Regions from separate parts of the Homo sapiens genome. Here region 1 is linked to region 2. Evidence: promoter capture Hi-C in 16 types of primary human blood cells and fetal thymus (Javierre and others, 2016). All regions are on one chromosome and are shown on one strand. Each heading gives the region's core, a stretch centred on a gene start or on the middle of the fragment in contact. The rest is flanking DNA. Distances are from core to core; before and after follow the strand shown.

Region 1 (4,612 bases), core at 1,838-4,337, 490 kb after region 2:
GGGCTATCATGAGGCATATTCTCATCCCTCCCTCCCCACAAAAATCTTGGAAATAAGAGAAATAAGATACTCTCTGAGAGTTAAGTTTCAAATCACTAGGACAGAATAATAACAAAGAAATACAAAGTCACCTTAAAAACAGAAGTACCCTCAGCCTGGGCAATATGCCAAAACCCCATCTCTACAAAAAAAATACAAAAATTAGCCAGGTATGGTGGCTCATGCCTGTAGTCCCAGCTACTTGGGAGGCTGAGGTGGGAGGACTGCTTGAGCCTGGGAGGCGGAGGTTGCAGTGAGCCCAAGTTGTGTCACTGTACTCTAACCTGGGCGACAGAGGGAGACCCTGTCTCAAAACGAAAACCCAAAGCAAAACAAAACCCAGAAGTATCCTGAGAGCTGGAGGACTTGGCTTTGGCTGGATTGAGTATATCAAACTATCTGAAGCAAAATGCGCTCGTCAGAAAAGGCCACCAAAGCTCATCATCAAAGCAGACATCAAGAGTGCTCAATGAATTCCCTTGCAGAAGAACAAGCTTGAATTGCTTGGAATGTTTAGATATCCTTACTGTGAAACAAACACCTCAGCTTATCTCAGCCTGATGCCTTTAAATAATCAATTCTAATTCCCCATGTTTCAATTCCGTATTTACCAAGAAATATTTTTATAGGAATAATTTTATTTCAAAAGTAATACATGTTTATAACAGAAATCATCAGAAAATATGGGCCAAGCCCAGGGATAACATTAATGCCTTGATAGATTTTCTTCCATGCCATTTTTCACACACAGAAATATACAAATATACATATTAACAAAAATAGAAAGGTTTCTATTTTGGGGTGGGGTTCAACTTGCTGTTCACTCAATAATGAATAATGAACATCTTTGTATATCAACAAATATACCTCTGTGACAGCAGGTTCATAATTACATATTATTTTTGATGGGGGGCAATCCTATAATTTATTTAACAAAGCTCTCATGCATATTTCTTTCATTTCCATCCTTTTGCAATTATTAACAGCATTGTTGGAGACATCCTTGTAGCAAATCTTTGCAACTCCTTAACCATTTCCCTGCACAGATTCTCAAAGGGCATGGACATTCCAAAACTTCTGATACATTTTGCCAGATTGCTTTCCAGAAAATAATCCTGTAATTTTTCCAGTGTTTGCCAGTTTTATAGGTGATGAATCAATCATTAGGCTATTGTTTTAATTTGTCATGAGGTTGAAATTTTTTCATGAATTTCTTAGACACTCGAATTTCTTGTTTTTAAAATCTTCCTATTCATAATCTTTGCCCCCTTTTTAAACAATGGGATATCTAGAGCTTTCTTGCTTATTTACAGAGGTCCTTATACGAATAAGGATATGAACTTTTGTGATCCATCGTACAAATATTTTTGTTATTTGCCTTTTGCTGCAATATGGTGTTTTGCCTTAAGCTCAGAATCAGTTAGGAATGAATTTAACTTCAGGAAATAGAAAACTCAGCTCCACTCTCTTAAGGGGGACTTATTATCTCATGTAACAAGCATCTCATAGAGAGGCAGCTGTTGGACCTGATTCAGACAGTTGACAATGTGACAGCTCACGTCCCTGTCCTCTCGTAGCCCCTCCCATTTGTTACCTTATCATCATTAAATGGCCGCTGCAGAACTAGCCACCAGGTCTGTGTTCCAGGCAGAAGGAAGAAGAGTGGAGGAAGAGACAAGACCAGCCGACCTTTGCTTATGTCTTATTGGCCAGAACCGATTTCATGGCCACTCCCAACAGTTAGGAAGAGGCTGGCAAGGGCGAAGGAGGCATAGGATTAAGTGAGCAAACTTAATCTGTCTGCTGTAGAGCAGTGTTAAGACTTTATGTAGTCAAACTGACCTACATTTATTTCTTCGGTTTCATGCTTTAAAAGTTCTTCCCAACTTATTTACCAACTTATTTCGGTAGATATTCATCTATATTTTTTCCATTATTTTTATTGTTTCATTTTGTCCCCAAATCCTTTTTGAACTTTCTCCTCTGATTTGAAATACTCCACTTCTTCACTAAGCTATGAGATGCACTGAAGTGCGTTTTGGCCGGTACTATTCTGTTCTGCAGATCTAGATTCCTATTCTGTGCTATAGCTAGTACTTTAATTAATGCAAAGTACCATGCATTTTAACATTGTGAGGCAAGTCCCTCTCATCATAGTGCTTTCTCAACAAAATGTTGACCTTTCTTGAATGTTTATTATTCAGATGAATTTTGAATCATTCTAACAAGGTTTAAAAGTAATCTTATTTGAGGCAGGGCATGGTGGCTCATGCCTGTAATCTCACCACTTTGGGAAGCCCAGGCAGGTGGATCACCTGAGGTCGGGAGTTCAAGACCAGCCTGGACAACATGGTGAAACCCTGTCTCTACTAAAAGATATAAAAATCAGCCAGGCATGGTGGCCCGCGCCTGTAGTCCCAGCTACTTGGGAGGCTGAGGCAGAATCGCTTGAATCCGGGAGGCGGAGGGCGTAGTGAGCCTAGATGGCGCCATTGCACTTTAGCCTGGGTGACAAGAGTGAAACTTCATCTCAAACAAAACAAAACAAAACAAACAACAACAACAAAAGAAGATCTTATTTGGATTTTAACAGGAATTGCATTACATTTATAACATAAAGGAGAAGAATTAACAACCTGTGTGATTAAGACTTCTAGGCCGGGCGTGGTGGCTCATGCCTGTAATCCCAACACTTTGGGAGGCCGAGGCGTCCGATCACGAGGTCAGGAGTTTCAGACCAGCCTGACCAACACGGTGAAACCCCGTCTCTACTAAAAATACAAAAAAATTAGCCAGGCATGGTGGCGTTCGCCTGTAATCCCAGCTACTCAGGAGGCTGAGGCAGGAGAATCGCTTGAACCTGGGAGGCAGAGGTTGCAGTGAGCCGAGATCACACCACTGCACTCCAGCCTGGGCGACAGAACGAGACTCCGTCTCAAAAAAAAAAAAAAAAAAAAAAGGAAAAAAGAAAAAAGAAAAGACTTCTAGGGCAGAAGCATGATGGAGGCAAGTCTTCTTGTTTATGTCAGTAAAGTGTTGTGATCATCACATAGTGGATTTCTTCCCCTCTGTTTTGTATTTTAATGGGGTATAGCTAATGTATAGAAAAGTTGAAACTTTTATTAAGATTTCTTTTACAGCTGGAAACTTCACTGAATCCTCAATCATTCTAAACGTTTTTCCTTACTTATTATATGTCCAATTAATCTGCCAGAACCTCCAAGAGGGGGGTGTCCCCTGCAACTTTGATTGTTATCTGGCTTCCCATTATGGTTCTTTTGCCATATTTTTCATTATACTATATTAAGCTGGCATTCACTCATGAGCCTAATTAACGTAATTTTTCCCCTGAGAGATAAATCTACTCTTGCTCTGCTGACAAAAGAAAGTTTCAGAGACAGCGGAGCTGAGCTGGCCCATGTTGTGTGGCATAAGCCACCTTGCAAGTTCTAACCTGTCCCTCAGTGGAGGAATGTCTTCTACATCGCTTTGTACATATTAATACAAAAAAATGTATTTATGAACCTCTGTTGTAGAGGTATATTTGTTGACATACAAAGATGTTCATTTTTTGCTCAGAAAGTACCTAATTCCATTTTGGGGACATTTCAAATTTTTAAAAGTTCTCATGTGTAGAGACATGATCTACCCAATATAACTTCTCTCTGTGCCTCCTGAGAGAGGCATCAGCTTCCCAATTCTTCTCTCTCCAACCTAAATATATCTCCCTCAATGATTTCTTCTTAGATAAGCTGGCTAAGACTTCTCACCCTCCTTGTCACTCCCCTTCGCCTGCCTGCTCTTGGAGGACGCTTCCTCCACAGTGGCCCCCAGAACAGATGGGAATGAGTGGGAGAGACTTCTCCTAGGCAGACGCACAATGACCTCCACTGTTTCAGCATTATCGCCAACTAAATTGTCCATTTCTTTGTCTCAGGAAGTGCTTCAGGCCAAATCTCTCCCATCCTGCACTTGTGTATTTTCTGAAAATTTGATTTATTCCTGTTAAAGTTCATTTTATGTGTGATTGACTTTTGTTCTTGTCTAGCTAAGTAATTTTGAGACATTTCTGTCATTCATCTCATTCATTAAATAACCAAACCTTCTTGTTTTGTGCCTTACATAAAATTTAATAGCCTGCCTTCTAGCTCTAGGTCCAAGTTGCATATAAATACGTTGAAATGGCCAGGGCTGAGGAGAGACCTGTGGCGTGACCTCGGGTGTCTCCTTCCAGGTGATACATAAATCACTCTTCTTTAGGCATAGGTGGTCAATCAGCTTCAAACGTAACCAATCTTATTGATAAAGGGATGAAAGGAAGGACCTTGTCAAAGATCAGCTGGGGAAGAGTATTGTCCAGAGCTCCATGTGACCCATCTGTGATGTGGTCAGCTATGGGTGCAGCCACTACAACAGAGCAGCGCACACAGGAAAAAACCAGGACCTAGAATCAGATCTGACTCCTGGAGTGGAACACACAGTGGGCTGGGGCGAGGCTGGGGTTTCAGAGAGAATCGTTATGTTAGTAATATTAGGAAGTACCACCAGCCACTCAGCTCACGGTACCCTATGG
Region 2 (4,583 bases), core at 1,641-4,140:
TAGTAGTGGAGTTTTTAAAAATCCCAATAGTTCAGTGATAACCACATCCTTAATACGTAAGAACAAACAAGAAAATTGTATCTGAAGATACTATAGCCAAGTCTCTGATAAATTCAAAGGGAAATCGACATCCCTTAAAATATCCAGATACTGAATTTACTTTTCATCAGTTAATACTTATAGCAACAGCCTGAGTGCCACTGGAGCCTACATTTTTATTAAAAGTTAGTCATTACTACTAAGCACATTCTCCCCACCCCTTGAAGAAGACAAAGAAAAAACACAACTACTCAGGTGTGGGGAAGGAGTGTGCATATGGGGGAAGGGAGGAAAGCACCAACTTGACTCTCTGGGAACAATTAAAAAATGAGACTTTGGTTTGACACAAGAATCACCAGCATGTCAGAAAACAAAGGAAGGGTCTTCTTTTAATAACTGCTTCGTTGCTCTTCTTTTTCTTAAAATGGAAATGGTTTGTCACAATGTAAACATGGAAATGAGCACCATGTGGAACAGTGATTAGGCAGCCGAAAGAAACTAACAGAACTACTGGAATTTGCCTTTGGAGTGGTGTAGATAACGAAGTAGGAAGTCCTTACGCATGCTTTAAGGCTCGTGTTTAATCAAAGACACATGCAATTCGAGATTAATATACAAGAACCACTTTTCGATTTTTTGGAAAAAAATTAAGTTCAGGATTAACTATGAAATAAAAATTTCACTATATATACCTGCACTAGTTGCTAAACTGCATTCCACTTAAAGGACAGTACAGATAACATGCCTCAGTAGACCAGAGTGTAAAAACACACTGACCACCACTAGACAGATCTCTATGTCATAAACCGTCTTCTCTTTTTTCAAACGGAGTCTCGTCTTTTCTTTTTTCAAACGGAGTCTCGCTCTGTCGCCCAGGCTGGAGTGCAGTGGCGCGATCTCGGATCACTGCAACCTCCGCCTCCCGGGTTCAAGCGATTCTCCTGCCTCAGCCTCCAGAGCAGCTGGGGCTACAGGCGCGCGCCACCACGCCCAGCTAATTTCTGTATTTTTAGTAGAGACAGGGTTTCACCATATTGGCCAGGCTTGTCTCGAGCTCCCGACCTCAGGTGAACCACCCACCGCGGCCTCCCAAAGTGCTGGAATTACAGGTGGGAGTGAGCCACCGCGCCCGGCCTATAAACCGCTTTTAAGGTTGCAAGATGAGCATGTACTAGGATGTGTAACTGGTAATTTCTGGAATGTCTGGCAACAAACCTCAAAATCAAATTTCCTTAGAAATCCTTGGCCTAAGTTTTATTTTTAAAAAGGTCAACACAAAATTAATACGTTAAAAAGGTGGCAAGTTCTATCGCATTAATAAAACCAAAGCACAGCACAGGCAATAATATATTAACAAGAAGGTAATTATTTCAGTAACAGCAGCAACAGGTTCCCTGGAGGAGAATCCCCATTTCTCTACAAACGCTGCACCTAGATGGATTCAGAGCACAAAATTTACCACAGCACAACATCTAGCAGACCGAAGTCAAGCAATGCTGATCTTTCAAAGAGATTTCACATTTCTTACCATTTTCTACCTTAACACTCCACAAAAAAAGCAAACACCTATCGAAAAATAAAAAATAACGTTTCTAGCAACCCAAAAGTAGCTCAGAGATCTCAAAAACAAATAGACAAAGGGGTGCTGATGCTAACAAAGTGACATTACAAAAACTAAGTGCAAAAGTAAACCCACTCCTCACAGTGTATCACAGATCAGTTAATGGCTCAGGTATAGAGCCTCCTCCCCCAGGTCCTCCCTTCCGTGACCGTGACTTCCCCAGTGGCTATTCTACATCAAGTAACTACTGAAAACGCCCAAGGAAAAGGAGCGGGGGAGGGTGGCTTTTGAAAATTCAGGTAGCCAAGAGTGACTGCTAATTTCATAAACAATAACGTAAAACAAGCAAACCACCGCTCCTAGCCAATGACGAAGCAGGAGTCAAAGTTCCACCACGTAATTCGGGCCTGGGCCTTTTTTCAGGCAAACACGTAATCGAAAGCACAGTCATTTCCCTCTTGATATTTTATTCATGCCGGCAATGCCATTCACAATGAAAAGGTAGCAAAACAAAAGAAAAAAATAACAGCAGCGAAGGCAAAGGGGCGCGGGGCGTCCCAGCCTCGGTCCCTCCCCGGCCGCGAGCCCCCGCAGGCCGGGACGGGAAGCGCCGCGTCCTCTCCGCCGAGGTCTCGACCCCCACCCGCCCCGCGGGGGCGAGGGTCCCCCAGGCGGCAGCGGGAGGGGACGTGGGGGCGGCGGGGACGCCGGACGCCACAGAGCGCCAGTCGCCTCGGGGGCCTCCCCGGGCTGCGGGAAGTTTCCGTCCCGCGGCCCCTCCCGGCGAGCCCGCCGCAGCCCACGCTCAGGTGCAAACTTCCCAAACCTCGCTGCGCCCGGGGTCCCAACCCGCGCCCAGACCCGACGCCGTCCCCCGGTGCGATCCTGGTGGTCTGTCTGCACTGCCCGCCGCACCCATGCCCAGAAGGGACTGGCTGGGCCGCGGACCCGCCCGGGGACTCCACCGAGGAAGCGGAGTGGCCCCTCGACCACCCCTGGCCCCGACCCTCCCCGCGGCCCCGGCCCCGACCCTCTCCGCGCCGCCCCGGGCCTGAGCGACCGGCCCGGCCTGCGCCGCGCGCCCCTCACCTTGGTGGCCATGGCGGGCGGGTCCCCCGGCCCGGGACGGCCGGCTCGTCTCCCGCGCCGCGGATGGTGATTCTGAGCCGCGCAGGCAAAGGCAAGGGCGAGGGCGGCGGCTCCGGCTGGGCCCCGGCGCGGCGGCCGCTCCTCCGCCTCGGCCCCGAGTCTCGACGCTCAGGCCCAGCCGCTGGGCGCTCGGCTACTCCCGCGCCGCACGCTCCTGCAGTTCCTGAAAGTCCCCGGCTGCGCGGCCCCCGCCCCTGTCGGCCGAGCCTCCCATTTACCGCGGCGCGCGCGACGCCCGCCGGAAGCGCGCCCTGGGCCCTCGGCCGCGGCCCGGCCTCCTCGCCTCCTGGCCGCCCCCGCGCCGCGCCGCCGCCCCGGGCAGTCACCGCCGCCGCCGCCGCCGCCGCCCCCGGGCGCCCTTGGTCGAGGCTGGGAGCGGCGTCCCGCGCAGCGGCGGGGTCCGGACGGGCGCCCCAGGCCATGGCCCGCAACCCTGCGTGGCCGCCCCAGGGGAAGCGATCCGCGGCCCACAGAGCCGCTCGGGGTAGCCGAACCCCGACTCCGGTTCACGCTCGGCCGGCGCCGCACGCCGTGGCTCGGCGCTTTCCGTGCATGAGGCGGGAGGGGGCGGCAGGAACTCTCGACGCCCCGGGCAGACAGGAGCCCCGCAACCCCGCTGTCTTTGCCCCACGCCTGGGGTGTTGCGGGGTCGCCGTGCCCTTGGCCGAGTACCCTGAGTACCACATAAACAGCTGGGAAGGAGCGGAGCGATGGCTTCCTGGGCCTCTTCCTCCTGCCCGGAGGCTCCCTCAGGCCGGGGTCCTGGCTTGAAGCCCCTGGGACGGGACGGTGGGGGGTTTCGTTCTGTGACGCCCCGTTAACCTCATTCTGGAATCTTGATAAGCTTAAAAATACCGGAGGGCCCGAGAGGTTTGGGGGACAACAGGCTCTCTGAAGTGGAAACGAGGTCTCTAAAATTTTCCATCTTTCTGTCAGTGTTTCTTTCCAGAGTTGGAGATATATATATGGGTGTTATGAATAAACGAATGACTTGAATTGAGCAGCAAGATTTTTCACTCAAGGACAAAACACGACTGGAAGATGTGTCTTAATTGGCATACTAGTGGAGTGCTTTTTTATTATTATGAGGGATATATTTGTAAGAAGAGACAACTATCAAATGTAAATCTCTGGTGTTTAATGTCAAGTTTGTGTCTTCTTAAATACATTCTATTTGACCTGAGATTTCACTAGTTATATTCAATAATGGGGTTTAAAATAGATACGGTATTGCAGAATTTTCTGTGAATTTTTGTGTTTGTTGAGCTCATGGTTAAGCTATAGTCATCATAATATGCATAAATAGTTGTCTTTCTCCGTAAAAAAAAATATTGGGAGGCCAACATTCATTGACGGCCTGCTTGCTGTATACTAGGCTTCCACATCCCCATCTCATTTAATCCTTATAAGAAACATTTGAGAAACTCATTATTGTCCACTGTTTACAAAGAAGAGCGACTCAGGGATCACTTAAATAACTTGCCCATTTGGTAATACTTATTCAAATCGAAAATGACCGTAGCCTTGGACCCAGCAGCCCTCCTGGGAATTTATCCTGTCAAACACTTGTACAAGTGTTCAAAGATGTTCATCAAAGATTGTTCTGTAATAACTCCAACCAGAAAGCAACCTATGTGTTTGTTAACAGGACTGTTTCAGTAAATAAGATACATCCATTCAAACAAAAATACTAGGAAGCCCGTAAGAAAATGATAATATTCTAAGAGGTGTTAAGAAAGATAAAAAGAACATTATGTATGGTACATTTATGTAAAAAAAAAAAAAAAAAGGAAATATGTGACACATTCCTAGAAAATTTCTGAGAAAGATTCGC

The links. Contacts are between HindIII fragments. The CHiCAGO score rates a contact against its expected background, and 5 or more counts as called.
Region 1: a fragment that was not itself captured here is called in contact with the fragment with the promoter of SNX9 in region 2 in 1 of 17 cell types (naive B cells); the score reaches 5.1 in naive B cells.

What each region holds. Positions count from the first base shown.
Region 1 is chr6:157,333,019-157,337,630 of GRCh38, reverse strand. No RefSeq gene overlaps it. Among named protein-coding and RNA genes, the nearest start is that of TMEM242-DT, 12 kb to the right of the region's middle. The HindIII fragment of the contact is 5,103 bases long and covers 536-4,612 here.
Region 2 is chr6:157,821,553-157,826,135 of GRCh38, reverse strand. SNX9 (sorting nexin 9) reads right to left here and starts at 2,890. Exons shown (of 18, transcript NM_016224.5): 1 at 2,690-2,890. The coding sequence starts at 2,701. RefSeq lists an enhancer at 2,062-2,111 and a silencer at 2,762-3,081. The HindIII fragment of the contact is 6,514 bases long and covers 1-3,595 here.